Regions from separate parts of the Homo sapiens genome. Here regions 2 and 3 are each linked to region 1. The links are contacts of gene promoters, found by promoter capture Hi-C in blood cells and fetal thymus (Javierre and others, 2016). All regions are on one chromosome and are shown on one strand. Each heading gives the region's core, a stretch centred on a gene start or on the middle of the fragment in contact. The rest is flanking DNA. Distances are from core to core; before and after follow the strand shown. Region 1 holds the start of DDC (dopa decarboxylase). Region 2 overlaps COBL (cordon-bleu WH2 repeat protein). Region 3 has its middle 71 kb from the start of SPMIP7.

What was found. The method cuts DNA at HindIII sites, captures the fragments that hold promoters and counts their contacts. A CHiCAGO score of 5 or more calls a contact.
Region 2: a fragment that was not itself captured here is called in contact with the fragment with the promoter of DDC in region 1 in 1 of 17 cell types (erythroblasts); the score reaches 6.5 in erythroblasts.
Region 3: a fragment that was not itself captured here is called in contact with the fragment with the promoter of DDC in region 1 in 4 of 17 cell types (neutrophils, total CD8 T cells, naive B cells and 1 more); the score reaches 8.8 in neutrophils.

Annotation. Positions count from the first base shown.
Region 1 is chr7:50,564,155-50,568,455 of GRCh38, forward strand. It overlaps DDC (dopa decarboxylase), which reads right to left and starts at 1,251. Exons shown (of 15, transcript NM_001082971.2): 1 at 1,131-1,251. The HindIII fragment of the contact is 1,002 bases long and covers 416-1,417 here.
Region 2 is chr7:51,016,212-51,020,512 of GRCh38, forward strand. It overlaps COBL (cordon-bleu WH2 repeat protein), which reads right to left. Exons shown (of 13, transcript NM_015198.5): 13 at 1-1,357. The coding sequence ends at 1,340. Among named protein-coding and RNA genes, the nearest start is that of GRB10, 240 kb to the left of the region's middle. The HindIII fragment of the contact is 3,491 bases long and covers 713-4,203 here.
Region 3 is chr7:50,164,296-50,168,596 of GRCh38, forward strand. No RefSeq gene overlaps it. Among named protein-coding and RNA genes, the nearest start is that of SPMIP7, 71 kb to the left of the region's middle. The HindIII fragment of the contact is 1,361 bases long and covers 1,284-2,644 here.

The DNA of each region.
Region 1 (4,301 bases), core at 1-2,500:
TCCCTGGTTTCAAAAATGTCACATATCCACTTTGCCAGGACTTCCAGGGTAGAGTTCTATAGGGTCATCTTCATCCTACACCGCATCCAGATAAGCACAGGGAGCAAGGCTGAATGCTGGAGGGACTTACCCCAGCCATGGGAGCAGCGCTTGTCGCCCTGGACCTACACACTGGATTGCTTGGCTGCCCGACAGCACCAAGTGCAAACGGGCTACATTCACATTTCGTCTCTGCCAGCTGCAAGATCTTATGCCATCCTCCTCCCCTCCTCTGGCTGTTTGCTCACTTGTGAAATGGGGATGTGACTGGAGGTGAAGAAGGCAAACCTTCTAGACAGAGCCCAATGTAAACTGACCACTCAGAAGTAATGGTTTTAACTCACGCATGATGGAGAGCAATGATTTCCATCGATTAAGCTTTGATTCTTATATACTTCCGACAACAGACTTAAAACCAGGAGAACTTCGACTCCTTGAAGTCGATAACCGAACAATTCTCCCAATAGAAATTCCTATCCGCATATGTTTTCAGATGGGAATTGTACTCAGCATGGCAAGTTGGTGGGAAAGATCTTCTAATTCTCCTCAAATCACACTGCATAGGTAGACACCAAATTGACCTCTAAGTAAACTATAACATACACCAAAAGGAGAGAGCCCTGACGGAGCCTCAGATGTTATAAAGGGAAGGGCAGAGTTCACATTTACTAATCACCTCCATAAAATCATGGGATTTAATCCTCACAAGGTAGATACTAAGAAAATCCTCATTTACAGAAGAAACAGAGGCTGGGGGAATAAAATACCCAACACCATCCCTGGTGGTGCATGGAAAAAATAGAATCACATCTGGCCCGCATTTGCTACTGAGCCAGTCATGAAATCATTCCCAGCACCTATCAAACATGTGTCACTGGAGTGACTGTGTGTGCATGGAGAGCCACCAAGTGCACAGCCCCCACTGAACAAAAACCCCTGCCAGCCTGCAGCAGAAGAGAAAGCACCACACAAGCTCCCTCAAGTGAGTTAACCTTTAAGCAAATGTTCAGTAACATGGGGCCAGAGAGTCAAGGTACATGTTGCTGTTTTCCACTACTACAATCTGAGTAGGTATAAAATCAGAGACTTACATGCTGGAAATTCGAATTCCTTACAGGGCTACTCTCCTTGATGGGATTCTCCAACTTTGGGGACTGAAGAGCATGTGGAGAAGCTGCTGAGGCACTCGGCACTGAGACAGTCACTCTTCTTGAAACTCCAAGCCACACGTTTCCCTCTTCTTGCATTTCCAGCCACATGTGCCAGTTAAACATTAATTCCTGATGGTGACAAAGGTCAAGGAAATCTTGAGAAATAGCTCGCCTCTGGGAATCCTGAGAGCACATTCTGAAGAGACTGTTTCATTCCAAATCCTGGAAGCTTGGATCTTTCTTATGTAATTCTACATACATCCCATCTTTTACTAAGCAGCCCTGATTTCAAGTTTGGAGCCCATTAAGTCATCTGATATGTTCCAGCCCTGCACCAGGTGATGCCTGCATTGCACACAGCCTCCTGCCCCTGAAGGCAGCCCCAAAGTAAGCCTGCACTTCCCGGTGCAGCACTCAGCAATATGGGTAAGATTTCCAGGTTCAGATATCAGCAGAACCCAGGAACTCACCTTCCTTCCCCAAACCCATCAAAATCATAGTTGAGATGCATGAAACAATACTCTGAGTGGAATTTGGACAAATTTATAAAAAAACCCCAAAGTCGATAGAATTTTATGAGAGCACAAAGCAGGGCTGAGAAAGCCACATTGAGAAGTTGAGCAGGCACAGCCTGCAGGGATCTTAGGAGCTGGTCTTTCTGGCAGACCCCCAGCAGCTCCAAGCGTGGGGCTCAGTGGGTGTGAAGAGCAGAGTGAGAGTGAGGCTGGCTGCGGGCAGCTCATTAAAGGACTGGAAACAAGGCAGAGAGGGCTGTCACTAGAGCCATTTGTCACAGGCTAGATGCAGGGAAGAGCTCTCCTTGCTCTATCCTAGGGGACTGGAGCAGGCTGGGGCGGGGCACCTAGGGTTCCTATTGTTAGGACTGGAACTGGAGAGAGAAGCAGAGTGACATTGAGGAGTCTCAAAACCTCCACAGGAGCCATTGGAGGAAAGAGGGAAAAGAGAAAGAATGGCAAGTGAGCCCTCCAATGACGCACACCCAAATGCTCCCGCCTGGGGTCTCACAGGAGCTGAGAACCGAAGAAGTGATTGTCCTTGGTAAGGGGAAGAGTGAGGGAAGGGCTCCAAAGAGGGAACAGCCTCTGCAAAGTTACTGAGGATCAAGCTCGGCATCTCCCAGGCCCTGACAGAAGGCCAACTCCTAAGGACCATTCAAAGTAGGGGAGGGGGAGTCTTGCAAGCCACGTTACGTAATTTGTATCCCCCCAACTGTAATAGAAGGCATTGAAGTGTTTCTAGAAAGCAGTAACCTTAGCTTACTTATGGTTTAAGATCACTCTGGCTCTGGGGTAGAAAATGGATCAGAGGGAGATAAGGGTGAAAGGGTTAGACCCTTTAAGTTGGACCACCAATTCCCACCACATTCCTTGGATTTCTGCACTTTCCTGCAAACCAGGAGTGAATTCAAGTGAATCCATTCTAGGAGATGGGCTGGGGGAGGGAGGGGGGGCTTGAGATGAAGAAGCGTGCTAATATTCCCCATAAGTGCGTGTGTGTGTGTGCATGTTAGGAGGTTGCTGGACAAGGGGAGGAGTCAAGGGGATGGAACGACTACCCAGTGATGAAGCCAGTGGGCAGGGGATGACGGTCATAGACTGAGAGGAAGAAGACTGGGGTGGACCAGTATTGGGTGTGGGGAGGTGAAGGACACCAAGGATTCAGTTTGGGAATTAAATTTCAGATATCCACAAATCGTGTGATTTGAGATGTCCAGTACAGCTCAGAAAAAGAGGCCCAGACAGGAAATAAAGTTATGGGTTGAAAGTGTTTAGATGATATTTGAAGCAATAGGACTGGAAAAAAAACATCCATAGAGAAGAGAGACCTCAGTTTTGAAATCCTCAAAAAAGTGAACTAGTAGTGTCCAACTACTGAGCAACAGTTATCTCTCAATAGAGAAATCTACATAGGAATCAGCATCCGTTCCCAGAAGGGACTCTTTTTACATTTCCTTTCTTCTTGCAGGTGTGGGATTTATGGGGAATAGGGGTGAGGCTTCGAGGACCAAAGAAAGAAATCTAGGGCAGGATTTCCCAACCATGGCACTTTATCAGTCAGGTTTCTCCAGAAAACTGGAAATAATAGGATATGGATATAGGAATATAAGAAGAGATTTATTGTAGAAATTGGCTCATGTGATTATGGAGGCTGGGAAGTCCCACAGTCTTCCATCTACAGGCCGGAGAACTAGATAAGCTGGTGGTGTAATTCATCCTGAGTTTGAAGGCCCAAGAGCAGGAGAAGATGGATATCCCAGCTCAAGAAGAGAAAGAATTTGCCCTTCATCCACCTTTTTGTTCTATTCTGGCACTCAACAAACTGGATGTTACCAGCCCACACTGGTGAGGATGGATCTTGTTTACTTTCTGGAGATTCCAATGCCAATCTCTTCCAGAAACACCCTCATGAACACAACCAGAAATCCTGCTTTACTGGCCCTCTGGGCATCTCTTAGCCCACTTCAGTCGACACATAACATTAACCATCCCAGCACTATTACATTAAGGGTGTATAATTCTCTGTGATGGGAGCTGTCCTGTGCATTATAGAATGTTTAGCAGCATCCGGCTTTTACTCATTAGGTGCCAGTAGTCCCCAGTTGTGACAACCAAGAATGTCTCCAGGCATTGCATGTTTCCTGGTGGCAAAATTGCCCCTGGTTGAGAAAGGCTGATCTCGTGTGACCTTGTAATGCCCCAGGGCAGGGGAAGGTAGCATGGGTTGCAGCCAAGGCTGTTCCTGGAAGAGGGTGAGTCTGCTCTTCCACAGGAGCAGCAACGGCCATCTCTCATGATGCCAGAGTGGCCTGCAGTCAGTCGCAACAGTGTGCATGTTGCAGGAGGGAGACTGCAGGTGCAGACGTGACTGTGAAAGAGATTCACAGTGCACCTGAGTGTGGCTCCTGGGAGCAGAAGAGACGGGGCTTCCTGCTGAGACCACTGTGTGCCAGAGCAAAGTGGGCACTGGGGGCTTTGCTGAGGCCATGGGTGAAGAGAGAGGAGCTCTACTGCTATGCCCACACTCTGGCCAAGCCCACAGACAGGAGTGTCAGGGGAACTGAGTTTTCCTGGAAAAGCCAATTTGTTTAGG
Region 2 (4,301 bases), core at 1,208-3,707, 450 kb after region 1:
TAAGATTTGATTTTCTTTTATTTGTGGCACTAAAAGACAGATAGCTGTGATGAAGAGCAATTGGCTGGTAGCTCGTGCCTCACCAAGAGTTTAGCAACGTTAATCAGTGAATGCAGAACAGCTTCCATTCTACCTGAGGCCTAGATCTGAGATCGCTGTGAAACATTAAAGTGACCTCACCATACTTGTTTTCTCACTCAGATACACATTTTATTTCATCAACACATCTTGATTTCTATTACTTTTTTCAATATAACAAAATGTTTTAGAGATATATATGAAAAACTACTGCTGTAGTTAGACCTCATTATAAATATTGGTGACTGGGCACCATGTGAGAAGACCACGATATCATACAAAGGGAGCCAATGAGCTGTTGGACAAACGCGTCAAGGCTGAACCAAAATTGTGATGCTCTCAGCGCAACTTTGATCTGAACTCTTGACAGGTGGGCATCCAACATCCCTGCTCCTTGACCCTCTGCAGGATTCCAGAAGGCTCCCAGTGAAGTCATCAGGCTCCGTACACAGGCACCGTGGGGGAGGCCTATGTCACTTCATAGCCTGGGGAATGGCTGTCCATGTGGGGCACTGCCCATCCACTCCAGTGGTGGTGTGACCTCAGCCACCCGCCACCCTTGCAGGACTCGGGCATGCCCTGGCCACATGATCACGTAGGACTGTTTTCTGGGTGGTAATAGTTGATTTTTAAAAGCTTAGTTGGTCAGATCATGGACTGTGACCCTCTGTGAAGTGTTAGCCCCAAATATTTGAGGAAGAAGAATCCAGCAGTTTTACTACCTAACAAAGCCACCTTTGAAAAGCCTCCCAATTTTTTTTTCTTACTACCAAAACACACAGCATCATGGAGCATATCACATTCAGATTGTTCCATCTGATTCATATGTTTTTTCTAAAATTCAAAAGATCTTAAATCAGTAAGTAGTTTCATCCATCTGTATGTGGTAAAAGTCTCAAAGGTCCAAAATCAGTCTAAGGCATGATTCTTTTTACTTTGCCCATAAATATAATTAAGTGTGAGTGCTGGGCTCCAGCATTTATAGTCCCATTAACCTGCCAACAAGAATCGTTTATTAGCAACTTAAGATATTCAGAGGCAAAACACATTTCCTTGGCACACGAGCTGCGCAGCGACACAGCATCTTCTCCTTTCCTTTCAAGCCGTTATACAGGAACACACCGAAAATCAACTGTGCGCATTTGGCCTGTAGACAAGAAAGTAACACCAAAACTTGATGTTCCTGGCTATGCAGACTCCTTGAGTGACGCCTGTGGGCATATTACAGGTGGGTTTCTGCAATTCTCTGGCCTCTGTTCATTCACACGAGCAAGGGCACCTGCAGGGAAGAGAGATTCACAGTTATTTGGTATGTCAATAAGCCCAGGATGCAGATCTTCTGGTGCTAGAGAGCTCTGTGCACAGCCACTCTTGCAATAGTACTCCTGGAACCCCCTTCCCAGTTCCTTTGACCTGCAGAAAGGAGGCTGTGATCAGGGCTGTCCTCACAGACCTTCTCACGCTCCAGCTTCCTCGTAAAAGCTGCCAGGGAAGGACGACTAGCAGGATGCAGAGGCCCGAGGTCAAGGGAACTGGGAGGTGGGCCCTGGGGTCCTGGTCCAGACAGAGGACACTGCCTCTTGGGCTGTGTGGGTACGCATCTGAGGCCTTGCCCTCTGCTCAGGTGTGCCTGAGAGGATCGTGACTAACATTTGATGTGGGACGAGTTACCCTCTATAACTTCAGTTTCTTCATCTTTATATTGGAGACATACCCATAATAATGACAATAATAAACTGCTTGTTTGGTTAAGCTGATGTTTTAATGAGTGGACTTGTGTCACACTTTAAATGGTGTCTGGCACATGGTAAGCACACAGGAAGTATTCTAGGTACTTTCCATGTGGTGATGGTGGTTAATTGTGGTGGTGGTGGCAGTGGTAACGGTGGTTATGGTAATCGTGGTGGTGGTGATGGCGGTGGTTGTGGCAGTGGTGATGGTGGTGGTAACTGTGGTGGTGACGATGGTGGTGGTGGTGGTGATGGTGATGGTGATGGTGATGGTGGTGGTGATGCAGACCCTGCCCTGTGCATGCTCTCTCACACATCCCTCGCATCAATCTTACAGATGAGGAAGTGAAGCCCCAAGGCCCAGAAGAACTGGGAGGATCGACACCACCCGGGTCTGTCTTGACACTGGGCGCACCTGCCCTTTTCCTGATGCTCCTCCATATCCCTCTCTTCTCTAGGTTCTCTCGGGCCCTCTTCCTGAACTCCCATGGTGGGGATTTAACATCTACTTCAAGCCTGTCCAACTCATGGCCTGGGACCACTTTAAATGTATCCCAATACAAATTCGTCAACTTTCTTAAAACATTATGAGGGTGGGCATAGTGGCTCACACCTGAAATCCCAGCACTTTGGGAGGCCAAGGCGGGCAGATCACCTGAGGTCGGGAGTTCGAAACCAGCCTGACCAACATGGAGAAATCCCGTCTCTACTAAAAATAAAAAATTAGCTGGGCATGATGGCACATGCCTGTAATGCCAGCTACTCAGAAGGCTGAGGCAAGAGAATAGCTTGAACCCGGGAGGTAGAGGTTGCATGAGCTGAGATCGCACCATTGCACTCCAGCCTGGGCAACAAGAGAGAAACTCCATCTCAAAAAAAAAAAAAAATATATATATATATATATATATATATATATATATATATATATATATATGATTTTTTTTGCAATTTTTTTTAAGCTCACCAGCTATCGTTAGTGTTTTTTATATGTGGTACAACACAATTTGTCTTCCAGTGTGGCCTAGGGAAGGCAAAAGATCAGACACCTCTGATCTACTTGTACAAACACAGTGCTCCACTTAGCCAGATGTTTCCTGAGGGCCCCACTTATTAATAGGGGGAGTGTTACAGTCTGAATGCTTGTGTGCTCCCAAATTCACATGCTGAAATCCCAACCTCCAAGATGGTGGTATTAGGAGGTGGGACTCTGGAATTTGATGAGGTCATGGGGGTTGAACCTCATGAAGGGATTGGTGGCCTTATCAAGGAGGCACCAGGGAGCGTGTCTACCCTTCCATCACATGACACGATGGGCAAGACTCATGGAACTTGTGATGTGGAAGGGAAGGCAAGCATCCAACAAAAACCACACCAACTGCTAGAGAAATTAGAGCTGTGGTTTGCATTATGAAGGAAAAATTATGTGACGCTGTATTGGGAACCTAATCTAGACTGAGGGAGGCTTTCTGAAGACGTGAGGTTAATAAAGGAACAAAGGGATGAGTCAGGAATGAGCTGGTCAAATGTGGGGAACAGCTCTGGAGGAGTGGAGAACAGCATTTGCTGGCCCTGAGGATGGTCACTGTGGTAGGTGTGCTTCTCCCAGGAGGCTCCTCCCCGTTCTACCTGCAGAAGAGGCAGCTGACTCAGTAGAGCTGCAATAAGCAGAACAGTCACACGCAAAGAGTCTGCAAAGACAGAACTGACCCCTAGGCCTCAGAACAATTTCACATTAACCAAAGCACACCACAGGTTTACATTACGAGCAACTAAACCAGGGGTGATGCAATTGTATTGTGGGTCACATTCACATCCTGATAGAAATTGCTATTCCCTCGTCACAGCAACTTGGAGTTCTCTAATGCACATATGAGGACCTAGGGCTTAGATGAAAAGAGAGTTGGTGTGTTTTTTCTCTTTCCTGGTTTGGGGCCTCCTGTTACTGTCACATGTCTAATCATTTCTTACAAGGTCTGTGGTCAAGGCCAAGTGTCATGACGCGTGTGGCCCGCATCAATTAATTCCTGCCGTGGGAAAACAGGCACCTGAGGGCCCAGACAAGAGACTGGAACTCAGTTCAATAGGACGTTTCCCAAAGCGGCTAGGAGCTGATAAGGTGTCTGGGCCCAGCAGCAGCAGGACACACGGAAGGGCTGGGAGAAGTCACTTATGATGTCTGTGCCCCATTTTCGCACCTGTCAAAGGGGAGCTACGACCTTGACTTCCAGGAAGGTGTCGGGGTAGATGCTTGCCCCGCTGCCCTCCTGGGAGGAAAGATCCACAAGTCATCGGGATTAGCCTGTCCCAGCTTCTTTGGAAAAGTTCCTAAGGTCAATAGCAGACCCCGCACCCCTGCCCCCTTCCTCTGGCTGAGAGGTCCTGAGGGCACAGATGAAGCTTCTTTCGTCTATCACAAGCAGCTCCGACAGTGCCCGGACCCTAGTAGGTTCTCCGGAAATGCTTGTAGAATGAAGCACTAGACATGAATGTTTT
Region 3 (4,301 bases), core at 714-3,213, 400 kb before region 1:
TGTGGTCAGAGAAGGCAATTATCCAATAGTAGGAATAACTTACCAACCCAGAATTATTTTCTAATAAGTGAAAATATTCCAAATTTAATCTATTTGCTCCCTTTAGCACAGTACAGACTCTGGGCTGGGTGACATGGTTTTCAGTGTTTTTTTGTTTTGTTTTGTTTTGTTTTGTTTTTTGTTTCTTTTACTTTGTGTTGTAATACACCCTTATGCATCCTATCCAAATGATATTCAGAAACAATACTGTGGTTTTATTTGACGCCATTGTATTTTTTTCATTATGGTTGGTTTAAATATAATACTCACAATTACTGTTGTCAAAGCAATTCCCATTTCACCCTCTATAAATGTAGATTCCTCATGGAGTGGTGAAATTGACATTGAAGAGCTGTTTCAGCCCTGTTCATCTTACCTGCTAATTACAGGTGCACAGGAAGAGCGCTGGTTTCCTCTGTGCCGGCCCAGACTTGGCTGGTTACCCAGACTGGGTTTCCAGGGCAAATCCCATTGGTTCTAGTTTGTAAACTGTAAATGGAAACAGATTTACTTCCTTACATGCACACTTTGGAAATAAAGCCCTAAAAAGTGTTCAGTGTTAATCTACGTTTCCAGTGCTGGTACATTGTTTTTATTGTGTCTTCCGTGGGCAGAGCCACAAGATAAAAGATAAAGTGAGACAGCAATGGGCCGGTGAGGACAGGCAGGAAGAGGTGTCTGGGCAGAGGAGGGGTGGGGAAGAGGCGCTGAGGGTGTGGTGCCCTGAGGTTGTAGGGTGCACATTGTGGAAGGTTGGGGTATCTGCACTGGAAGGCCAGTGTCACAGGATTGAGGCTGTCTGCTCTGGAGGGACCCATGGGCAGGGCCCAGACACAGCCCTGGGATGGCAACCCCACAGTGCTAAGCACAGTTCCAATGCAGGATTGCTGAGCTCAGGGCAGGGCTGTGGGCTGAGTGGGAACCGTGCTGGGCAAAGCAGAAATCAAGGAGAACTGATGTCTGATAGCTGAGGGTAGGGGGTGGTATCAGAACACTGACTGTTGTCTACTTGCTGGAAAGAATGACTTCCAATCACAAATTAGTATATTGAGTAAATATTCCCCAACATTTAACGGCTTAGTACTATGCTTTCATACTCAGTTATCTAAGAAGACATACAACCAAAGTCTTCCCTGAGAAGTTTACTAAAAAGTCAGTGTTTCAAGGTAGATGCCCTATGGGTCCTTTCCTGGGATGATTCTAAGATCATGTGAGCAATTGTAGACTCCTAGTCCATAATCTAAAGCTTGCCTAAATAGACTACAAGGATAACAGTCATGTCAAATGCTGCTGGGAGCACCTGGACTGGTTTCTAAGGAAAGTCTTGGCCTTCTGGTTGCTTCCTTGGCATGCATCATGGTGGAGTGGCCTCTGTTAAGGCACAGGCCTTGGTAAGAAGCTCAGTGTTCAAAGTGTGAGGTCCAGCTTATGCTGAACCGAGCTCAACAATGTGGATAGCGGTGGGAGAAACCACTGCAACTCTACCTTCCTCAGCCATTGGGACCCCTCCCAGGAAGCAGCCTCATGGCTGCAAAATCAAATCCAGGTTTGTTGTTGTTGTTGTTGTTGTTTTTGAGACAGAGTCTCACTCTGTCGCCCAGGCTGGAGTGCAGTGGCATGACCTCAGGTTACTGCAACCTCCGCCTCCTGGGTTCAAGCAATTCTGCCTCAGCCTCCTGAGTAGTTGGAATTACAGGCGCGTACCACCATACCAGGCTAATTTTTTTTGTATTTTTAGTAAAGACGGGGTTTCACCTTATTGGACAGGCTGGCCTCGAACTCCTGACCTCGTGATCTGCCTGCCTCGGCCTCCCAAAGTGCTGGGATTACAGGTGTGAGCCACCGTGCCCAGCCTAAATCCAGGTTTTATTGGCAAGTTTGGCCCTGCCACACTTGGGCCAACGTTTATGGAAACAGAGGAGCATTCAGCAGGAAACCAGAAGATGCTGTGTGCTCGCTGCTGATCTATGTTGAGGCAGCCACCCTCCATGCTGAGCAGACAGCTTCTCTTATCTTTCATTTTGTCATCCGGATACTAAATGTGTAATCCTTTTAATATGCAAGCAGATTATGTAAGATATAATATGGAATTTAAAGGGGTGTAAAGTGCTACAGCATATCAAAAGATGTATCTGAATCCACGTCTACAAAAATTGGAATATGGATATATTCATATATTCACGTTATATATCAATATATTCATATTCCAATATTTTGTATATCTATCCGTCTTTGAATATCTTGGAATATGGATAGATATAGACATATCATTTTATCTGAACTTAGAAGTCCCCTTGACTTCATTTTTTCTTTGGGAAAAAACTTATCTTTCCTAATTTGCTCATTAAACTCGGGTCAGAAATATTCATTTTAGGTTATTGGTTTTCTCGGTCTTGCTATTTAAAAGAGTATTTCTCAACTGCCATCTGGAAAAGGTCACAGAAATATTAATATACTTCTAAAACTAGAAGACCAAAAGCCTCAGCTTTCAATATAAGTTAAAGTGTGGTGATGCAAATTGCAGAAAATCAGTGGCCTGTATCTCTTCAAGAATTATTTAATAATGAATTTACCAGTAGCAAAATAAAAGGACCTCTCCTGAGTAAGCTTTAAACACAACTGAAATACACACAGGGGAGGAAGAGCCACTGGGCTTTCTGCGACTCCGAGGATGACAAGGGAAAGGCCATGTGGTGTTCAGACACCTGGGAGGGCCAGGCAGGGCCCTGAAATGACAGGAACCTCAGCCAAGGAGCTGAGGAAGCAGGTAGGGAAGGAGGGAGAGCCAGAAAAGGGGATGCACAGCAGAGACTGGGCCAAGGCATGCTCCCCTTACAGCAGCTACCAGGCCCAGCAGGCCAGCACCTTCCTCTCATGTTCGCGAGGAGCTGTCTTGAGTAAATGCCCCACAGGAGCACACGTGGATTCCTTTGATCTACACACGGGGGACTTCACAACCTCCCAAGGATGAGTGGTCGCTGCTCTTTTGGGGCTACTGTGAGCATTTGTGCAGTGAAGTCAGTTCTTGGCTCTGAAAACCAGTGGAACCAAGCAAAGATTCTCCCCAGATGGAGTACAGGCTCTGTGAAGGCTCATGGGCTGCCCGTGGGTGCATGGCCCAGCCTTTCACTCAGCTTGACAGCCAGATCCTCATGCTGGATGCCAGGCTATGCCTGGGGAGGGCTCCTGGAGCTCAGGCGTGAACTCCATGGTGCTGCAGAGGTGAGAGCATGGGATATTTCTCCAAACCACTGGGACCTTTACAAAACCTTTACCCTCTTCTGCTTAAAAGGTTAGCTTAGCTAAGGCAGGGCAGTGACGTTGTTTTGGTTGTGGTTTGATTCTAGTTCCTTTCAATTCTTCATCGTTTGTCCTTCAAGGTTCCTGGAGTCTGGGGCTCCTGAGAGCAAGCCCCAGCCCTCTTCACAGTGACAACACCCCTTCCTTTCTGGCACACCCTGCAGAGAGGCCACCCTTTTCCCCAGAGGCACCCCTTGTGAGTGAATTGCTCCTGTTCACTTCCTGCCTGAGGGGCAGCATTGAAGGGGGCAGGGAGAGGCAGGGGGAGGGATGTTTAGCAGGGGTGAGGAGAGGAGCAGCCGTTCTGGGCACGCGGAAATTCCAACTGTGCTGAGACTGACGCTCACGTACCCCCGCCTCTGGCTGTGGGACAAGAGTATTTGCCTTCTTGGTAGAAATTTTCCCTAATACTTAGTTTTTATTTCCCTAAGTTTCTAACTTTCTACAACTTCAAAGTTCACATGGAAATACCATTAAAGCCATAACCTATTCCCTTGGACAGTGGCTGTGTGCTGCACTAGGCCCTACCCGGGAAGCCACGCACCTGGCCTATGTCAGAGTTGCTGCTCCGGGAGAGGTTAGGACACAGGATCCAGCACTCACACTGATTTGTGGCATGGAATTTATGTCCTCAAAGCCTCCCATTTCTCACTGGGAAGATGTAGGTTGTTGTGGATGTTGAAGAAGAGAATATGCAGAAGTACCTGGCACGTTAGACGCAATCAATACATATTACCAATCGTGAATATTAAAAATCATTATCCTCTGAAACACGCCTTGGCACCACTTCTTGGCCTGCAGGTACAGTCCATGAAACAAGTAGCCCTTCCCCACCCTGCCTAGCCCCAGGAGCCATCACGATGTACCATGTCCTCTTTTTTTTATTATTATTTTTTGAGACGGAGTCTCTCTCTGTCACCCAGGCTGGAGTGCAATGGCGCGATCTCAGTTCACTGCAATGT